4 separate regions of the Homo sapiens genome follow, and all the other regions are linked to region 1. The links are contacts of gene promoters, found by promoter capture Hi-C in human tissues and cell types (Jung and others, 2019). All regions are on one chromosome and are shown on one strand. Each heading gives the region's core, a stretch centred on a gene start or on the middle of the fragment in contact. The rest is flanking DNA. Distances are from core to core; before and after follow the strand shown.

Region 1 (7,402 bases), core at 3,391-5,890:
ACATATTTTTCGGTTTCCCTGTTGTTTAAGTACCTATGTTTGAAAATGGCAACAGTCACTGCTTTTAAGTTAGTTATTACAGCTCAAAACTGCACCAAAACTTTTGGAATTCATGTATGATTCCTAAGTCAGAAACCTGATCCTAGCTCATTTCACTGGATGACCAACATTTTAACACTAGAATGAACTAAATTATTTTCTTTAGAAGTTTCAGTTATTTTTGGCCAGGCATGGTGGCTCACGCCTGTAATCCCAGCACTTTGGGAGGCCAAGGGGGGCGGATCATGAGGTCAAGAGATCGAGACCATCCTGGCCAACATGGTGAAACCCCATCTCTATTAAAAATATAAAAATTAGGCCGGGCATGGTGGCTCAAGCCCGTAATCCCAGCACTTTGGGAGGCCAAGGCAGGTGGATCATGAGGTCAGGGGTTTGAGACCATCCTGGCCAACATGGTGAAACCCCGTCTCTACAAAAAATACAAAAATAGGCCAGGCGCGGTGGCTCACACCTGTAATCCCAGCACTTTGGGAGGCCGAGGCGGGCGGATCACGAGGTCAGGAGATCAAGACCATCCTGGCTAACACAGTGAAACCCCGTCTCTACTAAAAATACAAAAAATTAGCTGGGCGTGGTGGCAGGCGCCTGTAATCCCAGCTACTCAGGAGGCTGAGGCTGGAGAATGGCGTGAACCCAGGAGGTGGAGCTTGCAGTGAGCCGAGATCGCGCCACTGCACTCCAGCCTGGGCGACAGAGTGAGACTCTGTCTCAAAAAAAAAGAAAACAAAATACAAAAATAGCCGGGTATGGTGGTGTGTGCCTATAATCCCAGCTATTCGGGAGTCTGAGGCAGGATAATCACTTGAACCTGGGAAGCAGAGGTTGCAGTGAGCCTAGATTGTGCCATTGCACTCCAGCCTGGGTGACAGAGCGAGACGCCGTCTCAAAAAAAAAGGAGTTTCAGTTATTTTCTTTTCTTGCTATATCCTCAGGACAAACCTGATAGGTTTCTCACTCACACATCATTGGCTATGTGATTAGTTTTGTGATAAGTACAATGGCACAATTCTTAAATTCTTGTATTATAGCAATAAATCTCATTTTCCATGTAAAGTGTCAGTGGAACTAAGAATGATTTATGATAGTAAACATCAAAATGATCGTATTTTAATAAATTTCCACAGATTCATCCAGTTTAAAAAACCTTTCTTGATTTCAGGTGTTTTCTCTCCTTCTCCTTGATCAAGGTTATTTGGGTTTCTATCTGTGACTTCTTTTGTTTTTATAAGGGTCTCGTATATTTTCTGGGCTCTGACAATTTCTTTCTGAGCATCAAAATGGACTTTTTGCCTGGTCAGGATGGGAACAATTAAATTAAAATCATTAATTCGCTTGTTTAATTTTCTGATGTTTTCTTGAAACTGCTCACAAACATGGTTCCACTGTTTCTTTTCAGTTGGTGTCATTGGATTCCCAAGTTTTTTCCTAGACACTAAAATTGCCTCTCTGAGTTGCTCAATAGTATCGCTTATTTCCTTTTGCTTAAGGATCCATTCTGGTTGGTATCCATTATCGATCAGTATTCGGTTCAGGTTGTGAGTCATGGGATCAATGTAAGAACAGTCAGAAAACTTTTTCAGAGGTTTTCCTTTCCCACTGAGATTGTCAAAGTCTCCTTTTGCCATGGATTCTTGAATGAGGTCCTCCACTAAACGTTCTATAGCTTGCGTTATCTTTTGCTGTTTGCTCTGTCTTATATTTTTAACAATTACACTATCAGGAAAATACTGGCTTTGTAGTTTCTGCTTTTGATATTCCATCACTTGTTCAGCAGCACGGTCTGCCCTAAATTGCCTATAATGCTTCTCTCGTTGAGTTGGAGTCCCAAAACCAATACCTTCAAAACTTAAATAATGTCGGTGTTGGGGTGTTTTATATTTGAATTTTTCTACATCTTCTTCTTCTTCACCTTTACTCTGACTGGCATTTGTTTGTTCTATCACATGGGAGAGCACCTTTCTATAAGCTTTTTCAATCCTTATAAATGTTGCAGAATCAGCAGTATTAGAGCCACTGTCAGGATGATATTGCTTGGCAAGCTTATGAAAAGATTCCCTGACTTCATCTGCAGAGCATCCTTCCTCCACGTTCAGCAGTCTATAATATTCTCTGATCTTCTTTTTGGATTTATGGGTTGACATCATTCTATTTCTAATGATACCAAAATATGGAAGCATTTTCACTCGATTAGGAATCACTGTAGCCTTTATCAGGTGAGATCTTAAGATCTGAGCCATCATCACATACATTGTATTCATTATTGTACCCAGAGTTCTTCCTAGCAATGACCTATAAAACGACAACAAATATAGGTTGAACAAAGTTGTATTATCAGTTAATTTCTTATTTTCAGCAATAAGGTAAAAGATACAGCATGAATTTATAAGTACAACAAGGGGCAGTTCTTTTGAATGCTGCTGTCAACTTTTTCCTTTTTTTTTTTTTTTTGAGACAGAGTCTCGCTCTGTCACCCAGGCTGGAGTGCAGTGGTGCCTCCACCTCCAGAGCCACGCCTAGCTAATTTTTTTGTATTTTTAGTAGAGAAGGGGTTTCACCATATCGCCCAGGCTGGTCTGGATATCCTGACATGGTTATCTGCCCGCCTCGGCCTCCCAAAGTGCTGGGATTACAGGTATGAGCCACTGCGCTCAGCCTTTTTTTTTTTTTTTTTTGTCTGAGACAGGGTCTTGCTCTGTTGCCCATGCTGGAGTGCAGTGGCACAATCGTGGCTCACTGCAGCATCAACCTCCTGGGCTGAAGTGATCCTCCCACCTCTGCCTCTCATGTTGCTAGGACTACAGGCGTGCACCACCACACCTGGCTAATTTCTGTATTTTTGTAGGGATGGGGTTTCGTCATGTTGCCCACCCTGGTCTCCAACTCCTGAGCTCAAACGATCTGCCAGTTTCTGCCTCCCAAAGTGCTGGGATTATAGGGGTGAGCCACTGTGCCCAGCCACATTCTTTTTTCTTTTCTTTTCTTTTCTTTTTTTTTTTTTTGAGACAGAGTCTCACCCAGGCTGGAGTGCAATGGCATGATCTCGGCTCACTGCAACCTCTGCCTCCCGGGTTCAAGCGATTCTCCTGCCTCAGCCTCCCAAGTAGCTGGGATTACAGGTGCACGACACCACTCCTGGCTAATTTTTGTATTTTTAGTAGAGACGGCGTTTCACCGTGTTAGCCAGGATGGTCTCGATCTCCTGACCCTGTGATCTGCCCGCCTCGACCTCCCAAAGTGCTGGGATTACAGGCGTGAGCCACCGCACCCAGCCCCACCAGCTGCATTCTTATAGCTATATTTCACTGATGTGGGCAGAAAAGTGGAAGCTGATGAAGTTTAGTGTTAACATATTGTGGGGCCAGGCACGGTGGCACACGCCTGTAATCCCAGTACTTTAGGAGGCCGAGGTGGGTGGATCACCTGAGGTCAGGAGTTCGAGATCAGCCTGGCTAACATGGCAAAACCCTGTCTCTACTAAAAATACAAAAATTAACTGGAGGTTGCAGTCCCAGCTACTCGGGAGGCTGAGGCAAGAGAATCGCTTGAACCCGGGAGGTGGAGGTTGCAGTGAACCGAGATCGTGCCACTGCACTCCAGCCTGGGCAACAGAGTGAGACTCTGTCTCAAAAAAATATAGATAGATAGAATCTGGATTCTACCCCTCACTAACTAACCGTATATTTTACAAGTGGAAAGTTCTTAGAGATCATCTAATCCAATCTTCTCATTTAATGAGAAAACGTAGGTCCGGAAGGTTAAGCAATTTAACCAAGTCCCATAACAAGGTGTAAGCAAAATGGTTAGGGGTGGGCACAGTAAAAAAGGAGGCTTGCTTAACTGTCTATACCTCCAGCCGATTATAAACTGCACGAGAGTCTGCATCATCTCAAGAAGTCTTCTCATAAGACGACTTATGGACAAGGTACGTACCTGGTCTGATACTGGATTGAATAGAATCAAGTGTCCAAAAGACTTTAAGCTCCACAGCTCGCTAGGAAGGAGCTATCTGCCAGAGGCCAGAAAAACCATGATGAATTGTGAGGCCTCCCAACACGTTTGCTGCTATTGCAATAACATGGTCTCGAAGAGGAGGAAGACTTGTACACTGACAATGGCCAAAAAATACTGGAAGTGGCTTAATTGGAATTGGGATATATAAACGCTAAAACGGAGCTCCTGAGACCCCCTATTTTCTAGGCAATCGGTGCCAACGGTCTGGGAGCCGGCTGCGAAGGTGGTTATCATGGCAAGGGAGGTCGGTCCTGCCCCGCCCCCTCCTCACCTGCGCAGACCTGGGGTAGGGGTTCCGCGGCTCCCGCCCCCCTGCCGCGCCTCTGCGCATGCGTGCGCGGTCCGCCCTTCACTGCGGGTGTCCCTCCCACCGCCTCCAGCTGGTGCCTCCGCCGGGCTAGACCATTTGCCACTTTACACTGAGGGGCTCGGGGGTACGGAAGGCAGAATCGTACCTGATTGGGACAGGTGACCTTACCAGGAAAACGGACAATCTTCCGCCAAACGAACTTTACCCCGGAGGACCCAGGCAGGGCACCTCGGGAGCCTTCGTCCCGACCGGGGACCACCAGCTCCACCTCCGTCCCCGCCCCGAGCGGAGGTGGTCCGGCCGATTGGGATTGTGGGAGATGTAGTTCGCTAGAAGGGGCGATGTGCGCCTGCGCCTCTCGGGAGGGACTTAGGGGGCGTCGAAAATGATGTAAAGACCGAGTTGGCGGCGTGGGGAGTTGTGGCTCGGAGGGCGAGGGTAACTTTCTGGGGGCAGGGGAAGGCAAGGCTGTTTCCCCGGAACGGGACCGGAACAGGTTTATTCGGGGTCACAGAAGGAGTCACCTGCGCAGATACATGAGGCTTAAAACCTGCCCTTTTATTAATTCAAGTACTGTTGAGGGGCTGGCGACAGGCCAGAGGACAAAATCAAAATAGGGATCTTCTGGCTTGGAGTTCAACCACTGACGTGGGGACTGAGCATTTCCCCTCTCTGTACAGGAAGCAAGTTTTTTAACAAGGAAAAAGAAAAAGGATAAAAAGAAAAAGGCAGAGGCTTGGGAGTTTTCAGATCTGGGTTGAAAATCCTGTTTCTTCTGCTTGCACCTTAGGCAAGATACCTGCAAAATGAGAGTTGCAATAAATAGTAAACTATAGTAAATAGTATGCCATTGTGCTAAGTGCTTTATGTATATTCTCATTTACTTTTTTTTTTTTTTTTTTGAGACAGAGTCTCGCTCTGTCGCCCAGGCTGGAGTGTGGTGGCGCGATCTCGGCTCGCTGCAACCTCCACCTCCCGGGTTTAAGCTATTCTCCTGCCTCAGCCTCCCGAGTAGCTGGAATTACAGGCGCGCACCACCATGCCCAGCTAATTTTTTTGTATTTTTAGTGGAGACCAGGTTTCACCATGTTGGCCAGGCTGGTCTCGAACCCCTGAGCTAAGGTGATCTGCCTGCCTCGGCCTTTCAAAGTGCTGGGATTACAGGCATTCATTTAATCTTTACAACAGCCCTCTGAGATAAATGCTGTTATTTTCCCTATTTTACATATAATGAAATAATAATTGTATCAACTTCATTGACTTTTTTAGGGGGAGAATTACACAATGTATGTAAACCACTTGGCACTGTGCCTCGCACATTAAGCAATATTTTTTGTTATGACTGTGTCTCCTAAAAGGAGCCAGAAATAGGTATTAGCCTCCTCAGCTTCTACATCATAAACATTAGAATCATTTATTGCCATCTATGTAGGAACACAGAAAAAGATACAGTATAAACTCTGATTCTGAGGGCTTTAGTTATAAGCAAACAATCAACAAAATAACTCATGTGAAAGAAAATAGGATTTCTGGCCGGGCGCGGTGCTCACGCCTGTAATCCCAGCACTTTGGGAGGCCGAGGCGGGCGGATCACGAGGTCAGGAGATCGAGACCATCCTGGCTAACACGGTGAAACCCCGTCTCTACTAAAAATACAAAAAATTAGCCAGGTGTGGTGGCGGGCGCCTGTAGTCCCACCTGCTCGGGAGTCTGAGGCAGGAGAATGGCGTGAACCCGGGAGGCGGAGCTTGCAGTGAGCCTAGATCGTGCCACTGCACTCCAGCCTGGGCGACAGAGCCAGACTCCGTCTAAAAAAAAAAAGACCTGGCCACTAAAAAATTTTTAAAAAGAAAAATAAGGCCAGACGCAGTGCTCACGCCTGTAATCTCAGCACTTTGGGAGGCTGAGGCAGGTGGATAACCTGAGGTCGGGAGTTTGAGACCAGCCTGACCAACACGGAAAACCCCCATCTCTCTAAAAATACAAAAAATTAGATGGGCGTGGTGGCGCATGCCTGTAATCCCAGCTACTCGGGAGGCTGAGGCAGGAGAATCGTTTGAACCCTGGAGGTGGAGGTTGCAGTGAGCTGAGATTGCGCCACTGCACTCCAGCCCAGGTGACAGTGCGAGACACTGTCTCAAAAAAAAAAAAAGCCACCAAGCAAAACTTCCTAAAAGTTGCCAGTAGCCATCCCCCTCTTCTGCTTCCAGGCCCAGTAAGGTGCCTTATATCTCTCAATCTCATCCTTCTCCCAGCCTTGCTTCTAAATGCACTCCAAGGCCAGGCACAGTGGCTCATGCCTGTAATCCCAGCCCTCTGGGAGGCCCAGGTGGGAGGATCACTTGAGCCTAGGGATTTGAACCAACCTGGGCAACATAGGGAGACCCCATCTCTATTTATTTAAAAAAAAAGTAAAATTAAAATACACTCCAAGTGTCAACACTTCACGCAGAAAACAGAAATGTTGAAGTTAGCCTTGCTTCCCCAGCTGCTCAAGGACCTTTTGAAATCTTCAACTGAGTGCCCAGCGAAGGCTGGGGAAGGGGCGGGGACTGTCCATCCTCCTTCCCAATACCAGTGGTTTATCAGTGTATTCAGCCCACAAAGCAAGTCCCTTCTCTAGGTACAGGGGAAAATTTCATTAGTAAAAAAATAAGAATTTTCCCCTTCAATCCATTAAAATTATAAAAATACATAAAACAAGATAGAAATGACAGAATGTTCTCAATAAATTGACCATATAAAAGGCCATACTCTGGCTGGGCACGGTGGCTCACGCCTGTAATCCCAGCACTTTGGGAGGCCGAGGTGGGCAGATCACGAGGTCAGGAGATCGAGACCATCCTGGCTAACACAGTGAAACCCTGTCTCTACTAAAAGCACAAAAAATTAGCCAGGCATGGCACCGGGCAACTGTAGTCCCAGGTACTCTGGAGGCTGAGGCAGGAGAATGGCATGAACCCAGAAGCAGAGCTTGCAGTGAGCCGAGATCGCGCCACTGCAATCCAGCCTGGGCAACAG
Region 2 (5,383 bases), core at 2,884-5,383, 890 kb before region 1:
AAGATAAACAGGTCCCCCATGTCTGATCACCCGAAGTGAAGCATCAAGGGAAGCCTTGGTCTTGAGCAGCCCTGAGCCCTGGACTCTCACTGTGTGGAGACCAGAGGCTGCACGATACCATCTCTGTCTTGACCATTCCCAAGGCAGACACTGCAGGCAGGTCCAGTGGGAAAGGGAGGATGCTCAGAGCCACGGACTCTGGATCTACATAAGGTGGAGGGCCCCATTTCCCCAAAATCACAGCCTAGTGACGTAGGAGCACCCACAAAACCAAGGCGGCCCCTCAGGTTACAGCGCTACACGATGTCCTTCAAAGGTCTCGAACCTTTCCTCCTCCCCCTCCTGTACACAGCATCAGCAGTTTGAAAAAGCCTGAAATCAGTGACGGGCGAAATTTTACATTTCAAGGAACATATCTGTTTACTTGCAGCCCTATTTTTACGCTTGAAATTAACATAGTATATTTCCTCTCCCCCACATATTAAAACAAACTCTAGATATTGGTACTCAATCCATATTTTCTTCCAGTTTTTGTTGGTGTGCAGGAAGAGGATATTTTTAGTTTAAACCCGAGCCAATAAGATTAAAATATTTGTACCAGTAGTTTAAATCTTTCGGATTCACTGTACATTTTTATCAGTTTGAAGGGAAATAACAAAAACTACTGACACATTAAAGCAAAAAGTACTTACTTGCTGAATCTTGGCGATAATTTTGGTTTTTTCATTCTTCCCCACGTAGTCTGAAAGCTTCTTCGTTCTTCTCAGCTCCTTGGCTGCCCACCACAGCTGCGCCTCTGCCTCTTTAATGACGTTGAGCCCTGCCTGGGGCCAGTCGTAAGAATGGCTTGACTGTGTGTTCCCACCCAGGGGGCAGAGCCCAGCTGAGCCCCTCCCAGCAGGGGGCAGGGGACAGATTTCTCCCCGTGCTCACCATGGGAGGCCTGACTCCCGCACCTCACTCTAAGTCCTTGCTGACTTTAGTACCTTCCCTGTTAAGTTTCCACTCATGCCCTGACTCAGTTAACTTCCTCCTCTGGACAACAGGGAGATCCTATCTCATTTGCACCTTGATCCATATAGTTCGTCTTAGACAGATCTGTAGGCCACTGCCAGGGAAGGGCACTGGCATCGTGCTGGGTGTTTAAATCGAGGTATAAAGGGGCTGCCTGTTTACTTCTGCATATTTCATTTATTTAACATGGCTTAGACAAAGAATATTGTCCAATAGGATAAGAAGTGAGAAAACCCAAGGAAAATGGAACATGAGGGTCAGAAAATAACATGAAGCAACAGGTAAGACTAGAAACACAAATTTCCATGCAAAGGGACTGACGCATTTGGGTAGAAATAGGAAGAAATTAGGTAGCTGGCTTCCTAGCAGCCAAAGACAGTGGAAATGTTTGCAGTCACTCCTGATGAGCGGCCTCACAAACTGCGTCCACTGCCTCCTGTGTGTGGGGCCAAACCCCTCACTCATGAGTACCCACTCTCAGGGGCTGCTCCTGAATTCAGAACTCTGCTCTGAAGCAGGGCATAGCAAACCTGAAAGCTGTGTAGGGAGCAAAACACTACATCCAGAAGAGGGGCATCAAATCTTAAGGGCTTTGGGGGCCAGGAACTCAACCTCCAGAGTACCCACTCACAAACTACGTACCTGTGTTCCCGACAAGTCTTCCTTATTTTCAAACTCCATGCGGATGGGATCATACGGTGGCAACCCCATGGGGTAAACAATCATCACCGCGCCTCGAAGCTGGTCCAAGGCATCTTTCACCATCTCCATGGTAACACAGACACCGGCTTCCACTTGTTTCTGCAAGCAGAAAGCCATCGTTATCTACAGTGTGGCTAATCACTTCCATAAATTCGATCAAGATCTTGTACAAGACCCTTGCCAGATACTGCCAGAGCAACAAAAAGAAATCAAACAGTTCTTGCTCCCAGAGTGACTACCATCTATTTCAGGGGCTGAGCGAAGCACACCGTGGCCTGTATTATAAAGCAGACGGTGAGCAGCACTGAGCATGGAGTACAATGAAGTGCAAAGAATTCTCAAAGGAGAAAGAGCCCAATGCTGGCAGCACAGATGGCAGTGAGGATCGGGAGATACGGCAGGGGGAGCAGGCACCGCAGGTGGGCCTCGAAATGCAGATGGGCTGAAAAGGTACAGATGGCAGCAGGTGCTTCAGGACAAGCTGAAACAAAGAAAAGCAGGCGCCAGCCCCCTCAGCATGGGGCAGGAAGGAGAGAAGATGAGGCCAGCTCTAGCTGGATCAGCTGAAGTTTGTTTTTGAATGGCCACAAAAGCCAGGCTGAAGAGTTCACCTTTCCTCTGTTAGGCCACGGGAAGCGACTGCCTTTTCTGGGAAGGAGTGGTAATGTTGAGAGATTTATCTTGTAGCTGATATAGAACAGACCTAGTTGGCCAGATGTGGTGGCTCACACCTTATGTAATCCCAGCACTTTGGGAGGCCGAGGTGGGCAAATCACCTGAGGTCAGCAGTTCGAGACCAGCCTGGCCAACATGGCAAAGCCCTGTCTCTACTAAAAATACAAAAATTAGCTGGGCGTGGTGGCAGGTGCCTGTAGTCCCAGCTACTCAGCAGGCTGAGGCAGGACAATTGCTTGAGCCTGGGAGGCAGAGGTTGGAGTAAGCCAAAATCGTGCCACTGCACTCCAGCTTGGGCAACAGAATAAGACTCTGCCTCAAAAAAAAGAACAGACCTAGTTGGAGGGAGACCAGGTAGCAGGCTCTGAAGAGTACAGAGGAAGGTGTGATGAAATAACAAATATATCTGGTCTTTGCTACTCAGTTCCAGGCACAGAGCTCCAAAACTCTTGGAATTTCCTGAGTGACAGGAGTGTCTTGTTATTTATAACGAGCCCCTTCTCACCATACCTGAGCTTGTGCTAATACAGTAACCTGTAGTCCGCGCTGGGTTTCAAGGAAGGGGCTGGCCGTGCCTGGGAGACCAAGCACATAATTAGAGGGTTGGAGCTTTCGGCCTCACTCCCTTCCTCCACCTCCAGGCGCTAGAGGTTGGGATCAAACACGTGGCCAGTGGTTTAAGCCATCATGCCTACTGAACAAAAACGCTATAAAAATCCCAGACATCATGGCTCAGTGAAGCTTCCTGATTGGTGAAGACGTTGATGTGCCGGGTGACACACATCAGTGGGGGCGTTGTGGGAAGCTCCAAATTTGTAGTCAAGCTGGACACAAGTATGGGTGGCCTGGGGACCTCACGTGCAGCTGGTGTCTGAAATAAGAGGAGTCTTGTTGGTGATCTCACCCTTTAACTTTTAGGTCTGATGCTAACTCCAGGCAGTTAGTGTCAGAATTGAAGGATCTGCCCTTGACCTGTGGGGTCTGTGCTGTCTCTGAGTAGTTAGTGTCAGAACGGAATTGAATTGACTGGCAGGACCCCCAGTGGGCATCAGAATGCAAAAGGCTACAGGAGAGCCTTAAAGAAAGCCACAGCTGTGGAAGTGAAAGGAAGAGGTGGACTTAAGAGGCATCATGGGAGCAGACGGTACAGAACCCCACTTCAAACCTAGAGGTGACAGAAGGGAGAAGTGTTGAAGATGACACTGAGGATTTGCCCTATAAAACCAAGACACTGTGGTTCTGTTACTGGAAACAGAGAAGCTCATAGGAGGTGCTGATTCTCAGGGACAGAACAGAGAGGGAGAGGAGTGAGGAAGCAAAGAGCTCATTTCTAGAAAACTGGACTTCAAAGTGCTGACTGGGTGTTCAGATAGAACCATCTCACAACCAGCTGGAAATTCAGGTTGGAAGTGAAGCAAGATGTCAGGGGGAAAGGATGGAAGCTTCAGAGTTATCTGCAGAGGGTGGAATTTGCATTTGGCAGAGTAGATAAGATACTGAGAGAGGAAGAAGACCAAGGATAAAAAGTACTTTCAGAAGTACACAGGCAAAGGGGAGAAGTGAGGCGACCGAGAGAGGAGTTCCACAGCAAAGTGTGGGGAGAAGGGTGCAGAACAACAGCCAGACCACTGTTTTCTTGCCATGGCCTGAGACGTGCTCACATGCCTAGATGCCATCACCACGCAAACGACGGGCTCAACCAGGGCCTCTCCTGTAGAGCTTCATAAAGCCTTTCCTATATTAACAGGCACAGAGCTTCAGGGCAGCCTTTGCTGAGGCTCTTCAAAGATTAGTCAAAAGCTTGGTAAGTTTGAGAAATATTGGTTTAAAAATAACAGTTCTGCTGAGCAAACCAGGAGAAGCAGAAGAAAAAGTGGTGATCAGTCAAGAGACTTGCAGTTGAGAGCGGTAGCAACTAATATCACCAACACACAAATACAAGCAACAGATACAGATACCACTTCTTTCAATAGCCTTAAATTCTCTTCCTCCAGATACACATTATCTGTATATCAATGGTATAAATTTACGCTCCTCCCTCTATAAACTAGCCTTTGTATAAAATGCTGAAGACAATTACAAAAAACCATTTATATCAAATACATATTAAGTCAATCAAGTGTCTGGAGAGCTACTCGATGGCCACAATATTCAAATCTCCCCTACTTAACTTTGTTAAGTTCTTCAAAAAGGTAAAAGAAATGAAATCAACATTTGTATTATACATATTTGTATTATACGTGAACCTATATTTACATAAGCCAACAAAAATTTGTGTCTGCCTGGAGGAACGGAGAGGCCTCTGGGCAACCGTCAGGATTATGAAAGGAAAAGCTACAGCCTACCCCAAATACGCTTGTTTCCTTTGCCTCCGGAAGGCTGAAAGAGAAGGCTGGCTGAGAGGCAACTCTGGAAGCCAGAGTTGGAGTTTTATCTCAAAAGACAAGTTTTAGGCCGGGCGCGGTGGCTCATGCCTGTAATCCCAGCACTTTGGGAGGCCAAGACAGGCGGATCACCTGAGGTCAGGAGTTCGAGACCAGCCTGACCAACATGGAGAAACCCCGTCTCTACTAAAAATACAAAATTAGCTCGGCATGGTGGTGCATGCCTGTAATCCCAGCTACTCGGGAGGCTGAGGCAGGAGAATTGCTTGAACCCAGGAGGTGGAGGTTGTGGTGAGCCGAGATCGCACCATTGCACTCCAGCCTGGGCAACAAAAGCAAAATTCCATCTCCAAAAAAAAAAAAAAAAACCCAACAAGTTTTAGTGCATCATTTAAAAAAGCCAACCTTAGATATTATTGCTTTGGCTTCTTCTATAGTCTTCTTTAACACTTGCTTCATCTTCTCATTTGGAGCTATAAAAATAAAAAGGAGAGAGGGAGAAAGAGCTGTCAAATACAAAGCCTCTTCTGAAATACCTCAATCCCCTCTGTCTGAGTCAGGGGGTAAATGAACTGAGAGAGAGTGCGAGTGTGGAATTTAGGGAAGAG
Region 3 (7,402 bases), core at 2,167-4,666, 860 kb before region 1:
AAAGTACTAGGATTACAGGCATAAGCCACCGCGCCTGGCCTTTTAAATGTTATATAAATGGTGTCTTACTATTTTGTATCTTGCTTTATGGCTACACCGTGAGGTTTTCTCGTATGTTCTTTTCACTCACTTATTTTCACTGCTGTCTACGATTCCACTGTATGACTATGCCACTCCACTCCCCTGTTGATGTTTATTTGTGGTTTTCACCATTACAAACAATGCCTCTCATGCTCCACAGGTCCTAGTTTCTCTAGAAGTCGGATTTCTTATTGATAGGGTATATGAATTTTACCTAACATTGTTAAATTGTTTTCTTGAGCTGATGTGCCAGTTTACCCTTTCACCAACCATGTTAAGAGTTCCCCCCTCTCCATATAATTGGTAATCCTTGATACAGTCAGACATTTTTCTAACATTAATAAATTGGTGTTTTAATTTATACATCAGTTTCTTGTGAGTTTGTTTATTACATGCCTATCACCCTTGCTATAGTTTCTGGTCCTGCAGAGCTCAGAATCTGGCTGTGGGTCATGTAAAAACGATGAAGACTAAGCTACAGACTGGAGAAGTATCTGCAAACCATATATCCAATGAAAGATGAGTAGAATCTGGAATATGTACATAGCCCTCAACTGTAAAAACAAAATCCATTTAGATGATGGGTAAAATACCACAGACACTTCACTGAATATAAGATGGCAAATAAGCACTTGAAAAGATCTTCAGGCTGGGCACAGTAGCTCACGCCTATAATCCCAACACTTTGGGAGGCCGAGGTGGGTGGATCACCTAAGGTCAGGAGTTCGAGACCAGCCTGGCCAAAATGGTGAAACCCATCTCTATTAAAAACACAAAAAGTTAGCTGGGCATGGTGGCAGGCGCCTATAAGCTCCACTACTTGGGAGACTGAGGCAGGAGAATCGTCGGAACCCTGGAGGCGGAGGTTGCAGTGAACCAAGATTGTGCCACTGTACTCCAGCCTGGTTGACAGAGCAAGACTCTGTCTCAGAAAACAAAACAAAAACAAAAGATTTTTATCATTAGCTGTTAGGGAAATGCAAATTGAAACTACAATGAAACATCCACTACTATAATGGCTAAAATAAAAAATAGTGACACCACCAAATGAGGAAAAGGATGTGGAGAAGCTGGATTACTCATGCATTGCTGATGGGAATGTAAAAGGGTAGGCACTCCGGAAGAGTTTCAGTTTTTAAAAAACTGAAGCATGCCATTACCACATAACCAAGCAATTGCACTCCTGGGCATTTATCCCAGAGACATGAAAACTTATCTTCATAGCAGCTTTATTTGTAATAGCCACCAAACTGGAAACAACCCAAGTGTCCTTCAGTGGATGAATGGTTAAATAAACGGTGGTACATCCATACCATGGAATACTATTCAGCAATAAAAAGGAACAGAGTACATGCAAACTAGATGAATCTCCAGAGAATTATGCTGAGTGAAAAAAGCCAACCCCAAAAGGTTACATACCATGATTCAATTTATGTAACATTCTTGAAGTGAGAAAATTATACATGCGGAGATCAGATTAGTGGTTGCCAGAGGTTAAGGGCAGGGGAAAAGGAGATGGGATGAAAGGGCAGTGGGAAAAGGGCAACATGAGGGCTCCTTATGGTGATGGAAATGCTCTGTATTGTTCATGTCTCGGTCATGCTCTGGTACTGTAGTTTTGCAAGCTGTTACCCATGGGGGCAAGTGGGTAAAGGGGTACACGGGGTCTCTGTATTATTTCTTATAACTCCATATTAACCTACAAGTATCTTAAAATGGTTTTTGTAAGCCAATAATTCTGTAACTTCTTAATAAAAGGTTAATGAACATTAAGAATTAAAGTAAGAATTTCAAATATCAATCAGACAGGTCTGAAAAAAGGCAATACTAGCCTTGGCTTTTTTTTTTTTTTTTTTTTTTTTGGTGAGATAGGGTCTTGGTCCGATGCCCAGGCTGGAGTGTGGTTGTGTGATCATAGCTCACTCACTGCAGCCTCGATCTCCTGGGCTCAAGTGATGCCCCACCTCAAACTTCTGAGTAGCTGGGACTACAGGGACGCACCACCATGCCCAGCTAATTTTTTTGATTTTTACCAGAGATAAAGTCTATGTTGTCCAGGCTAGTGTCGAACTCCTGGGCTCAATCAATCCTCCTGCCTTAGCCTCCCAAAATGCTGGGAGTATAGGCATGAGCCATTGCACCTTGCCTAGCCTTGGCCTCTTTTTCTTTTTTTTGAGACAGTCTTGCTCTGTCCCCCAGGATGAAGTGCAATGGCGTGATCTCGGCTCACTGCAACCTCTGCCTCCCAAATTCAAGCTATTCTCCTGCCTCAGCCTCCTGAGTAGTTGGGATTACAGACGCCTGCCACCACGCCCGTCTAATTTTTGTATTTTTAGTAGAGACAGGGTTTCACCATGTTGGTCAGGCTGGTCTCGAACTCCTGACCTCATGATCCACCCATCTCGGCCTCCCAAAGCGCTGGGATTACAGGCGTGAGCCACCACGCCCGGCCCTGGCCTTTTAATTTGGGTCTCTTTAGGCAGTCCCTTTTTCTGATTGGCTATTTTTGTCCCAATTCCTCTTTGCCCCCCACTTGTTCCTTCTACTTTGGGTAAGAAAAATCATTCATATTTCTTGTATTATTTTCAAGTCAGCATGTTTTTGCGTGAGGGCCTCTCTTATGGAATAAGTGCATGGACTTTTTTTTTTTTTTGAAACAGAGTTTCGCTCTTCTCGCCCAGGCTGGAGTGCAATGGCACAATCTCGGCTCACTGCAACCTCTCCCTCCCAGGTTCTAGTGATTCTCCTGCCTCAGCCTCCCCAGTAGCTGGGATTACAGGCCTGCACCACCACGCCCAACTAATTTTTTTTTCATATTTTTAGTAGAGATGGGGTTTCACCATGTGGGCCAGGCTGGGCATGGACTTTTTAATAATGATTAGTAATCTCGGAAAATCTTCTTAGTTTTAGAGGAAGCACTATCTGGAGAAATGAAAATAAGGTCTTGAATTAAAATATCTGATTCGGCAATAAGGGTTAAGCTTATTTTGTTTGAACGTCACCAAACTTGTGTATGTAAAGTACAAGGAAAATGGCTGAGAAAAATTCTTCCCTTTCTAACAAAGAAGTCAGCATGGTAAAGACAGATATATTTATTTCATATGACAGCACGTTTCACAGGATATGTACAGAATGTCTGTGTACCACTGACTTTAATACTGTACTTCTATAAAGTTTATAGTTATAAATATTGTATGCCACATAAGCAATAAAATTCTTACATATAAACAGCAATCTAATATAGAGAACACAGAGTTCACAAAGAGATCCTTAGTGTCTAACTTCTGCTCTGCTTTTAACAGAACTAGTAAATATTTAATAATACATAGAATAATGGCTAGTTATTTGCAGCATACCTTTAACTTTCATAACTTTGTGCATTTTCAGCAACTTGCCAAGTATAATTTTCCTGATAAAGGCTGGGCTGCTGATATGTATATTTTAGACAGTAGTTTATATTCAATAGGAAACATTGCTCACAGATCTGCAATTTGCACTAGTGAAGTTTACCTAACAATGAATTATTTTGCTAATGGAGAGCAAATACCATATACACTAGTCACATGGATGTTAAAGCCACAGTTTCAACAAGTTAATTCACATTTTGAAGCAACTGCTTATAGTAATACTGCTGTTTAAGACGCTACTGCTGAAATGATTAGAACCTCCAAAAAGCACAATATAAAACTCACAAGAGTTATTTCTAACAGCAAATCTTGGCTGTTAACAGAGAAGATTACTTCTATAAATATAGTATTTTGATAACATTTGAGCATTTAGAAAAATGCTTTTTTTCTAATAGATTTGCTTTATAAGTGCAGTGCAGTTTGCTGTGCTTTTAACATTCTACATATTCGTAGCCATGAACGCTATTTTTTGATATTCCCTCAATGTACATCTTTAAAGGTTAAGTGTGGACATAGGAATTTAGGTGGACATATACAACTCTTTATATAAAAGGAATGTTAATGTAAGTCTTAATGGGTAAAGATGATTGTAACTGAAACTGACAAAGAAACAACTATTGCTCAAGGAGTTTTCTGATTGGTTTACTTAATGATATCAAAATACTACATTCTGTAAAAATTCTGTGTACTTCTTCAAAAAATTAATAAAAGCGGGATCAGTTGCATATTGGCAGTGCAGGAGACAAAATCCGCAGCTACTTTGAGGTATAGCCTCTAAAAACTTAAAGCAGCATCATAGATGTGTTATGTAGCCTCGTAAGAGGGGGGAGAACACACACTGGGTATATTCCCAATTCAAAGCACTCAGGGGACAGCTGCTTTCCCTGCTAAAAGCAAAGTTCCAGAGCAAAAGCAGCAAAAAGAAAATATGGGAGGGATATGGGCAACGTATACTCGAACGTACGCAGAGAAGAGAGTACGGTTAGCTCTAATATTTCTCATTGAACTTGGTGGTATGTGCCTTCCCTGCATATAAGGCCATAGTGCTTTTTTGGGAGCGCTAGAATATCCATCCACTTGACAGTGACCACAAAATAGGCTGTTTCCAGCTGCAAGAACCTCCTCCTGGAGAAAAGCGTATGAAGGTGCTGGAGTGAAAAGTAACAAGGTTGTGTGTATTTGAAGGGGTTGGGTGTGGAACGGTAGAAAATTCTGATTCTGTGGTGAGATTATTCTAGTTTTGAAAACAAAATTAATGAAAGGTCCAAATTACATTTGCAGCCATCTTTTTGGTAATGTGATATTGAAAAAGGGACTTTGTTGGAACTTTTAGGTATAATTTGGTCTGAGTTATAGCCTAGAAATTAAAGTATGAATTGTAAAAATATGTAAATGTATACAGAAGTACATGTGTTTGTATGTATTATATATGTACACATACCTATACTTTTTTCCTTTAAAGCAATGCCTTTCAAAACTCTGTTCACTGTAACCTTGGCAGCTCTTTGGTAAATACTCAAAGATACCAATTGTTAACAAGTATGAGAGGGCTGGTGGAAATGTCAGCTGAAAGTTGGGTGGGCTTTTTGAGATTCTTCAGAAGACTGACCGAAAAGTTTCTGAATAAGGACTGTTTTCTAAAGTATAAGTACTTTTTATGGCTACTACTGTCTCCTATTCATCCAAAGAGAAATACATCAAAACTCCAGTTAACAATGAGAAGGGTTTTTCCTTATTTCCAATATACACATAGTCCAACTCTGTACACATCAAATAGTGGTGTTTTGTGAAGATATCAGTGCACTTACAATGACTTATTGCACATAATGAAATACTAATGCCCAATTCTCTTAGCTCTATCCTGCCAAAAGCAAGTACCCACTGTTTTCTATTGCATGGCGTTATCTTTCTGTAAAGTCCAGTGTGGGTGAAGCCTTAGAGGCCAAGGTCGTGAAAGGATCTACTGGAGGGCTGGTGCCGGGCGGGAGCAGAGGGACAGGAGGTGGAGGAGGTCTTCTTGACGGCAACACACAGAAGGAGACATTTGTACCTTTATTCCAGTCATCATTCAATGTCAGGTTGGAGCCAGAAAATGAACTTGGCTGATTACCCAGTAAGTCTGAACAAGCTGACTTTGACTTCCCTTTCACACCAAAATCCTCTTCTTCCTCGAAGGTTACCCATCCTTTCGGGTTGCTAATTTTTAATGTAGACTGGCCCTGTAGATCAAAACTGTCCTTAAAGCCATCAAGTGAAGATGAAGCCCTGCTTTTGTTATGACCAAGAGGCTGCAGAGAAGGGAAAGGACTGATAGTAACGGGCTCTTCTTTGGAGAACCATGAAGTTGCCTCTGATTCTTCAGACTTGGCTCTAAATGGGTTTCCAGGAGCAGCAGTCCTGTCACTGAAAGGATTTGTCCTGGTCAAGCCAGTAATAAATGGGTTTGGAGAACTTCGCATATTTTCCTGGGATTGACTCCGAGCTGGAATTGGAGGCATTGTTGGCATGCAACTTACAGAACTCAAAACATTACTTTGCGTTGCAGAAGGCAACTGAATCAACCTCTTTGGGTCTGGGGTGGGAACAGGTGACGTTTGAACAGATAGCTGAGCCTTTGATACAGCAAGCAGATTAAATGACAGATCTTCAAATGGGTCAATCTTTAATGGTGATTCTCTTTTGCCATCAGAGATTCCATTTGTTTTTACCTGCAAAAGAAAGGGAGCACTGAAAAATCAGTTTATATTTACTCTTAATACCCCCTATTCTTCCTGTCTCAATTATTCTTCCCTTTTAGGGGCAAGCATGTAAATTTAGAAACTAAAAAGTAGCTTTGTGTAGTTTGTTACTCCGGTGGTTTAAATAACATGAAACACCTACAGTCTTTAAAAACTTCTTTCTAAATAAATCCTTTCTAATTAAATCCATTTTTAAATCCCTCAAAATCAAAGAGCTTATTTCATTCATGCAAGTTTTGAAATGGTAAGAAGGAGAATTGTACAGAATTAACAAATTTGTTCATGCCCAGTTCTATCACATTTCAGCATGAACTTAAGAAATCCATACTTATAACTTATGCTAAATCTATATAAATAAAATTCTAACACCCATCTATGATGATGATGTGGTTTCATTGTTCTTTTAAGTGTGTTTTCTAAAATTAATGTTACTATGGAAATTCAATTTTATAGATAAAATTAATTCTATTAGCATATTTTATTCCTAAGACGAAGACTCCATCTTTCTGTCTTCTACTTGGAAAAATAAATTTTGAGAGTTCTTTGCCCACCCCCTCTTTTTTTTTTTTTTGGAGACCAAGTCTTGTGCTGTCACCCAGGCTGGAGTGCAATGGCACGATTTTGGCTCACTGCAACCTCCACCTCCCGGGTTCAAGTGATTCTTGTGCCTCAGCCTCTTGAGTAGCTGGGACTACAGGCGTGTGCCACCAGGTCTAGCTAATTTTTTGTATTTTAGTACAGATGGGGTTTCACTATGTTGCCCAGGCTGGTCACAAACTCCTGAGTGCAGGCAATCTGCCCACCTTAGCCTCCCAAAGTGTCAGGATTACAGGCGTGAGCCACCATGCCCGGCACAGCTGACTTTTAATGTAAGCTCTCCTTTGTTGAATAAACTGAGTAATGTGAGGCTGGGCGCGGTGGCTCAAGCCTATAATCCCTGCACTTTGTAAGGCTGAGGCAGGTGGATCACCTGAGGTCAGGAGTTCCAGACCAGCCTGGCCAACATAATGAAACCTGTCTCTACTAAAAATACAAAAAATTAGCTGGGCATGGTGGTGCGCGCCTATAATCCCAGCTACTCAGGAGGCTGAGGAAGGAGAATTGCTTGAACCTGGGAGGCAGAGGTTGCAGTGAGCTGAGATCGCACCACCGCACTCCAGCTTGGGCAAGAGCAAA
Region 4 (7,402 bases), core at 3,000-5,499, 540 kb before region 1:
AGTGTGAGGTGGTAACTCACTGTAATTTTGATTTGCATTTCCCTAAGGGCTAATAATATTGAACATCTTTTCATGTATTTATTGGCTATGTGTTTTTCTTCTTTGGAGAATGTCTACTTAAAGGCTTTATCCATTTCTAATTGACTTATTTGTCTTTTTCTTATTGAGTTGTAAGAGTTCTTTATATATTCTGGATACCAGTTCTTTCTCACATAACATGATTTGCCAACATTCTCTCCTATTCTGTGGGTCATCTTTTCACTTTCTTGATAGTGCAGCACAAAAATCTAAGTTGAGGTAGTCCACTTTATCTATTTTGTCCTTGGTCTATTCCTTTGGTGTCATGTCTAAGAAATCATTGCCTAATCCAAGGTTAAGGATTTTTAAGACTTTTATAGTCTTGGCTCTTATATTTAGCACTCTAGTCCTTTTTGAATTAAATTTTGTGTATGGTGTGATGGAGGGGGTCCAATTTCATTCTTTTGCATGTGGATATCCTTCGTCCCAACACCATTTGTTAATGTCTGTTTCAGAGGTATGTGAACCAGAGCAACTCCATCTTGAATGGGAGCTGGGTAAAATGAGGCTGAGACCTACTGGGCTGCATTCCTAGATGTTTAACGCATTCTAAGTCACAGGATGAGATAAGAGGTTGGCATAAGATACAGGTCATAAATACCTTGCTGATAAAACAGGTTGTAATAAAGAAGCTGACCCAAACCAAACAGGTTGTAATAAAGAAGCTGACAAAAGTGACCTCTAGTCGTCCTCACTGCTACACTCCCACCAGTGCCATGGCAGTTTGCAAATGCCATGGAAATGTTAGGAAGTTACCCTTATGGTCTAAAAAGGGAAGGCATGAATAATCCACCTCTTGTTCATCATATCATCAAGAAATAACCATAAAAATGGGCAACCAGCAGCCCTTGGAGCTGCTCTGTCTGTGGAGGAGGCATTCTTTATTCCTTTACTTTCTTAATAAACTTGCTTTCACTTTATTCTATGGATTCACCCTGAATTCTTTCTTGCGTGAGATCCAAGAACCCTCTCTTGGGGTCTGGATCAGAACTCCTTTTGGGTAACATCTAGATGACCTCACAGGGGGTGGCATCAGTGTGCTCCCTGCCACCTCTGCTGGACATTAACAGCTAGGACTTACAGAGACTTGAAGCTCCCATTTATTCAGTGTTTTCTACACATTTCTCTACACCAGTCCAGGCCTTGCTTTAATTGTATTAGAAAACATAAAATTGAAAGCAAAACTCCTAAATTTTCGTTTTGCAAAAGAAAATTATTTAAGCTCAAATAATTCCCCATTTGGCATTTAGTTTTGAGATCCTCTAGCCTTTGTTATTATTTATTTATTTTTGTCCCAATGCAGCTGAAATATTTCTCCTTCTCTATCTCTGGGGCCTGTTTAACCAGGTGAAGAGTCCACACAAAGCTACAAAAATCAGTTGAAAATAAAAAAAAATTAGTGGAGAATTAGTTTTCCTTGTCTATCTGATAAATGTCCCTAGACTTGTTTGAGTGGCTTTGCATCAAACAGCAATTAGCATGAAAGGACAGCATGACTGGGTGGTTTGGCTTCCTGCAGACGCAGCTTTGCTCACAAGAGCTTACTGATCCTTGTCACCACCCTCCTCTGGGGCAGGGCCAGGCCAGCTTGTCACGTGGGACTGGTGACATCTTCTCACTTGGCTTTTCCAGTGGAGTCTCTAGAAACAAATATTTTAGAACTTTCATCCGGACTAGGCAGGATTAAGTGAGAATCTCTTTAGCATCTGCCTTTGTTAGAATTAGGTTCATCTGTCTGAAAGCAAGGCCTCAAATAAAAGTGGCTTGAAAATGACCCAAGTTTATTTCTGTCTCATGTGCCCAGGGTTGGTGGGATGGCTCTGCTCCATAGGTCCTGAGGGGCTGCTCTACCTCCTTAGCACAGCTTCTTATAGCACCAGAGGTCCAGCCATCACGTCTGCATTCCAGTCAGCAGGAAGAAAGGAGAGCAAAGAAGGGAATGTCCCTTCCCTTACAGTATGCTTTCTGGAAGTTGTATACCACTTCTACCTTCAGCCTTTGGCTAGGACTTAGTCTCAAGGACACACTTAGCTGGAAGCAATACTGCAAAATGCAGTGTTGTTATTCCACGTGGACCTGTGCCCAGGTATAAACTGGGGCCTCTACTGCAAAGGAAGCAGAACAGAATTGACATTGGGTGGGGCGGGCAGAGGGGGGTTACTGTCTAGACTCTGCCAGAGTCCAAGGGCACTCTGTCCCAAGAGTCAAGGGACCTTTTCCTAATTTCAATTCTGCAAATGATTTGTCAGCCCGGTTGAGGAGCAGGCTAGGACAGCATGCACAGATGCCGTCTTGCTCAACTTAACCCTTCTTCATTTGTGCATTTTCATTTAATACACTTGGATTTGGTACAGAGAAGGGGAATAGGGTTCTAGACACTGAAGGAAATGAAATCCCCACATGGCTCAGAGCGTGGGGATTTTGCTACTTGAAATACCATTGTACCCTCTCCACTTTCAAATGAAGATCCTGACATTGTTTTCCAGAACAATTGCACCGTCCAGACTCAGGGACCCACAAAAGTGTCAATTCACCGCATGTTGGCTTTTTTTTTTTTTTTTTTTTAAACTAATTGTAACAAGTGGTTGCTGTGAAACGCAGGCTTCCGAAGGCTGCCCTTCCAGTGACCCATACCCTGACCTGGACAGACCACCTTCTGTCCAAAAGAGGAAAAGTTTTGTTCTTAGATCAGATGAAACCCTGGCTTACCCCTGGTGACCAGCGGGATTAATCAGACACCAGTAAAACAGCTGACAGAAACACTGAACCAACTCACAATAACCAGCACACACATCAGGCAGCATTCCTCTGCGGGGTCTTACCTCATCCCTTTCTTTTGCCCTGAGATGCAATCCCTGCTTCCTGAGGCCGTGTTCTCTGTGCTTCTTAAAGGGAGCCACTTGCAAGCTAAGAAGCTGCCCATTTTTAGGATCAATATGGTATTCCCCCAAGTTGGTTAGAAAACACAATGGCAGGGACAGAATTTGCAGCAGGGGTTTGTAGAGGATTAGGGCTGCTTCGCCAGGATTTATCGCCCCATGCACAACCCAGACTGAAACCCTGGTCGCAGTCTGGGTGGTTTAGAATGAGCCAACAGGCATTGCCATCAGTTTTAGGCCTTTGAAAAGTAAAATCTTCCCAACGTGCAAAAAGTAACCACTAAAAATGGACCATAACCAGATGCAAAGAAAGAATGAAAGATTGTGAAAGGAAAAAAAAATTCTGAAACTGTATTTGGAAGGTTCCTGCAGAAGGGGTCCTTCTGAAAGTATGCAGCAGGCTTCATAGCTTGCCCAACAGTCATGTACATTTCAGAATGTAACTTTCCAAAGCAAGTTGCTTCTTTGCTTTACTACCTGCAGAGAGCCACCTGCTTCATTTAATCGTGCTTTGGGTTCTGTTTTATTTTTACTGTATCCCATTTTCCAGGGCAAAAAGCAGAAAGCAAATAAAACCACATTTTTGCTACTAACTTAATATGAAATCTATTTTAATTCAGAATGATTTCCCTCCACTTTTATTTTAAAACATGTTTAAGAAGAAAAGCAAGCTTAGAGGATTTCTGGTCCTAAATACAGCGATTTCAAGGATTGTTATCAAAACCCTGAAGGGCAGTGTTAAAGAATGGGATAACCTTGAAATATAGGATGGCTAAGAAGTGAGAGCAAAATATCACTCACTAGTGGCTATTTGTAACCAGAGTTATGCCAGGGAAGGGAGAAAGCAGTGAGAGCCGGCAATATTTGAGACGGAAAGAGATGACAGAGAAAGGTATCTTTAGCGAGGAAAGCATTTAGTGACTTTAAATCAGATGCCAAAAGAATATTTACTGGGGGAAAAATCAATTTTTCTGTGCTGTGGAGGAAGCATTTCAAAGTAAGACAACCTTTATTTCCAAATGCCTTCTGGAGGCCCTCCCCGGAGGACACAACACCAACGCTATTAATCTTGACTTAGTGAATGAACGTATTATACGGATTTCAATCCAGATCTTCAAGTCTTAAAGAGTTCTGAAGAGCCCAGATAAAGCAACCCGTTTTTCCTTTGGTGATTCCTCAGGGGTAACTCACTTTAATTCCCCTTTCATCTCTATGGGAGGACTCGGAACTTTAAAAGCAAACAGGTTTCCTATACTAATTCCTGGAGAGAAGGCTTCTGTTGCTTTCTTGCTGCTGCGAGACTGAAGGTGGGTGACCATCTTCATTTGTTACCTTGGAAGATGTGGAGAACCAGAAGTAAGTTTGAAATAATAGGCCAACGGTAGCTGTCTCCTTTCTTCGAGGAAAGTTATTGCCCTTCCAAATGCCAGTTTGTTTTTTGATTTTCCACGGTCCAGCCCCGTATTTAACACAGAAAGATGCTTTAGAAGCCAGAACACTGATAATAACCCCAAATATACACAAAGACAAAGCAGAGGGCATGCCTGTTTTGTCCCGTCAGACAAATTATGATCTAAATTTTCTGCCAACACCACTTTTTTTCCCCTGATTGTTTATGGCAACAGCAGCCTGTTTATTGAGATTCTAAACTGCAATGAAATTTTCTGGGATTGAAAAAAAGAGAATAAGAGAGTTAGAGAGAGAGAGAAGGCTTATTATGTAGAAGTAAACTGTTTCAAATGGAAACCTGACTCCCATTGTGGAAAGGGAAAGCATTGAGGAAAATTACGCCAGATTATCTAGGCTAAAGGAAAAATTTTATGCCTCACTGTGCCACTTGCAAGGAACAGGAGAGGAAAGAAAACACAGAAACTGTGTGGCAACAAATGACTAAATTGGGACGCAGAGATAGCAGCCTTGCTAGGTTCAGTCCAACTTGTACAAGAATGGTAACAACCTAAGGCAGAGATATACCAACAATTATCTGTTACCCAGGGATTATATTAATAAAACAGCCAGGGAGGGAAATGGCTCCATTTAACTAACTTTTTTTTTTTTTTTTTTTTTTGGGGGGGAGTTGGAGTCTTGTTCTGTTGCCCAGGCTGGAGTGCAGTGGCGCAATCTCGGCTCACTGCAACCTCTGCCTCCTGGGTTGAAGCAATTCTCCTGCCTCAGCCTCCCGGGTAGCTGGGATTACAGGCACCCGCCACTGCACCCGGCTAATTTTTGTATTTTTAGCAGAGATGGGGTTTCACTATCTTGTCCAGGCTGGTCTGGAACTCCTGACCTCATGATCCAACCATCTTGGCCTCCCAAAGTGCTGGGATTACAAGGGTGAGCCAACGCACCCAGCTACTACATTTTGACATAAAGTCCGAAGACGGGACACAGGTCAGCACTTTTCATCCTAAAGGGTTATCAAAAGACATCAACTTGTATAAAAACTGGTGTGAAAATCGAGTGATGTTTTAGTTGATGTCATATGTTTTGTTCTCTCATGTGTCCAGATCCCGGAATAGGCTGAGAAAAATAGAACCTGGAGTGTAAAAAGAAAAAAGAAACATGTTAGTGGATATAGGACATTTTGCAGCTCTCAATTTGATCTGTTCCACAGTCGTCACACAGGATGAGAAGATTGTAGGAATGTGGAAAAAATTAGAATAACCTTGCATTTCGAGTTATGGAAAAGAAACTTTTAAGCTTTTAACATTTCTGTGAGAACAACATGAACCTGACAGCTAAATCACTGAAATATTGATCACATTACAAATAAAAATTCAAACAAATTCGTTTCAATTGAAAGAGGAAAAACATTGATACTACTACTGCTCATTGGTATGGTGATATGCAAATGTGGACTCCAATAAAGGAATTTGTCTAATTTTTGGACCACAATTATGTGAGGGAATATCAAAATGTTTATAATTTGCAACAACACAAGGATGTAGATTTTGTCTGATTTTGTTAATCTCTGAAAGGCTTATTTTTGATGTGAATTAATTGGATAGTCTAATATGCTCCCTTTCAGCCCACCATAAATATCTGTGAATTAAATTATGTAAACAGTTTCCTCAAAAGCAGAAGCATTGCTAACTCCCTTCCCCCGCATTAAATAGTTCTATATGAGTTGACAGAAGGAGTTGGCTGTGTGACCTTTCGCAATGAACGGGGAACATAGCCCCCTCTGGCCTGAATCTGAGAGAAGCCCCTTCCCAAAGCCCTTATGAGATGATATACCAGAAAACAACACATCTGACCAAGAAGTCTCTGAAGTTGCAGCCTTTTGTATTTACACTTTTGAGCTATCTCCATTGTGATGCAAATCTCGATTTTCAATCAAAATTGGCTAGAAAAAAAAATCTTTCTCTGGAAACCGTTGTAGGAAGCACGTAAGCCTAAATCTTAAATTTTCTCTGTTCTGACTTCCTATTAAGCCACAAAACAAATGTTATCAAACACATACACCTTTTGCAACTGCGGATTGAAAACTCAACCGTGTCAACTAGCATTTTTAACTAACTATAGTTTTAGTCTTAAAGGGTGCTGAGTTTATGCGTTATAAATGAACACCCCCCTCCCTTTTTTTTTCTCTCTAATTTGGGTGCTCACGTCAAAAGCATCTAAAAGCATTTTAACTTTTGTCGACTGTCCCAATTCAAGTTTGTTTGAGAGAGTCCTCCCTTCTTAGCTTGGATCCTTTATATAAGTCCAGATGAATAAAATAAAATGAAATGCAAAAGGAAGGCATCATTAATGGCTTGAAGGCGTCCCACTTTTATTTTCTTGTATTTTAAGAGCTGAAGTTGGAAATATGGAATCCTCCCAAGCCGCTCAGAAAGTTTGAAGACACAGGGGGCAGGGACCCAGACTTATGGAAGTCTCCGCCTCAGGCTGAAGGTTTGTGGGCGTCTGTGTGTGCGTGCGTCTGTCTTTTACTGTACCCTTCAAGATCGAGTTCTGAAGGAGCATTTCTCCTGCCAAAATACACACACAGCCTGGGATTAAAAGGGCTGAAACCTACCAGCAAGTTCTTAACGCCCTCCCACAATCATTAGACCAAATCCACCATCATTCCAGATTCATTTTTCCCTTATTCATCTGTCCAACTAATTCCTGCCACATTCACCAGGCTTATATCTTAATCTTTTCTGTTACATAGAGAATACATAATGAAAAGCTGCATTTTCTGGGTACATGCACACATTTGGAGCGGATGAACCATATGTGAAGCGACATACAATGCTGAATGCCGGCTGAATGGCGTCCAGCGCTAAAAACACCGCGAGCGCAGGAACAAAAAGCCGGCGAACAAGAGCCAGCGCCAGGCTTGCCTCTGCTGGAACACCAGGGGCTTCGCCGCGAAAACATGGGTATAATTTCACTGTTTTCACTCACACAAGCTGTGGGAAAGGAGTCACCATCTGATGTTTGATTGTGTGGGATAT

Evidence for each region. The method cuts DNA at HindIII sites, captures the fragments that hold promoters and counts their contacts. A contact is called where the count stands out against the background at its distance.
Region 2: a contact is called between a fragment that was not itself captured here and the fragment with the promoter of DNAJC28 in region 1, in 1 of the 25 tissues and cell types used here (dorsolateral prefrontal cortex).
Region 3: a fragment that was not itself captured here is called in contact with the fragment with the promoter of DNAJC28 in region 1 in 1 of the 25 tissues and cell types used here (lymphoblastoid cells).
Region 4: a contact is called between a fragment that was not itself captured here and the fragment with the promoter of DNAJC28 in region 1, in 2 of the 25 tissues and cell types used here (dorsolateral prefrontal cortex and spleen).

What each region holds. Positions count from the first base shown.
Region 1 is chr21:33,487,076-33,494,477 of GRCh38, forward strand. DNAJC28 (DnaJ heat shock protein family (Hsp40) member C28) reads right to left here and starts at 4,641. Exons shown (of 2, transcript NM_001040192.3): 1 at 4,527-4,641; 2 at 980-2,349. The coding sequence starts at 2,318. The coding sequence ends at 1,152. The HindIII fragment of the contact is 10,582 bases long and covers 1-7,402 here.
Region 2 is chr21:32,602,469-32,607,851 of GRCh38, forward strand. It overlaps CFAP298-TCP10L (CFAP298-TCP10L readthrough), which reads right to left. Exons shown (of 12, transcript NR_146639.2): 3 at 5,181-5,248; 4 at 1,657-1,815; 5 at 693-824. It overlaps CFAP298 (cilia and flagella associated protein 298), which reads right to left. Exons shown (of 7, transcript NM_021254.4): 3 at 5,181-5,248; 4 at 1,657-1,815; 5 at 693-824. Among named protein-coding and RNA genes, the nearest start is that of CFAP298, 7.2 kb to the right of the region's middle. RefSeq lists a silencer at 2,011-2,305. The HindIII fragment of the contact is 4,387 bases long and covers 1,941-5,383 here.
Region 3 is chr21:32,625,606-32,633,007 of GRCh38, forward strand. It overlaps SYNJ1 (synaptojanin 1), which reads right to left. Exons shown (of 33, transcript NM_203446.3): 33 at 3,158-6,196. Among named protein-coding and RNA genes, the nearest start is that of CFAP298-TCP10L, 17 kb to the left of the region's middle. The HindIII fragment of the contact is 9,547 bases long and covers 1-7,402 here.
Region 4 is chr21:32,948,270-32,955,671 of GRCh38, forward strand. No RefSeq gene overlaps it. Among named protein-coding and RNA genes, the nearest start is that of LINC01690, 6.9 kb to the right of the region's middle. The HindIII fragment of the contact is 5,013 bases long and covers 1,744-6,756 here.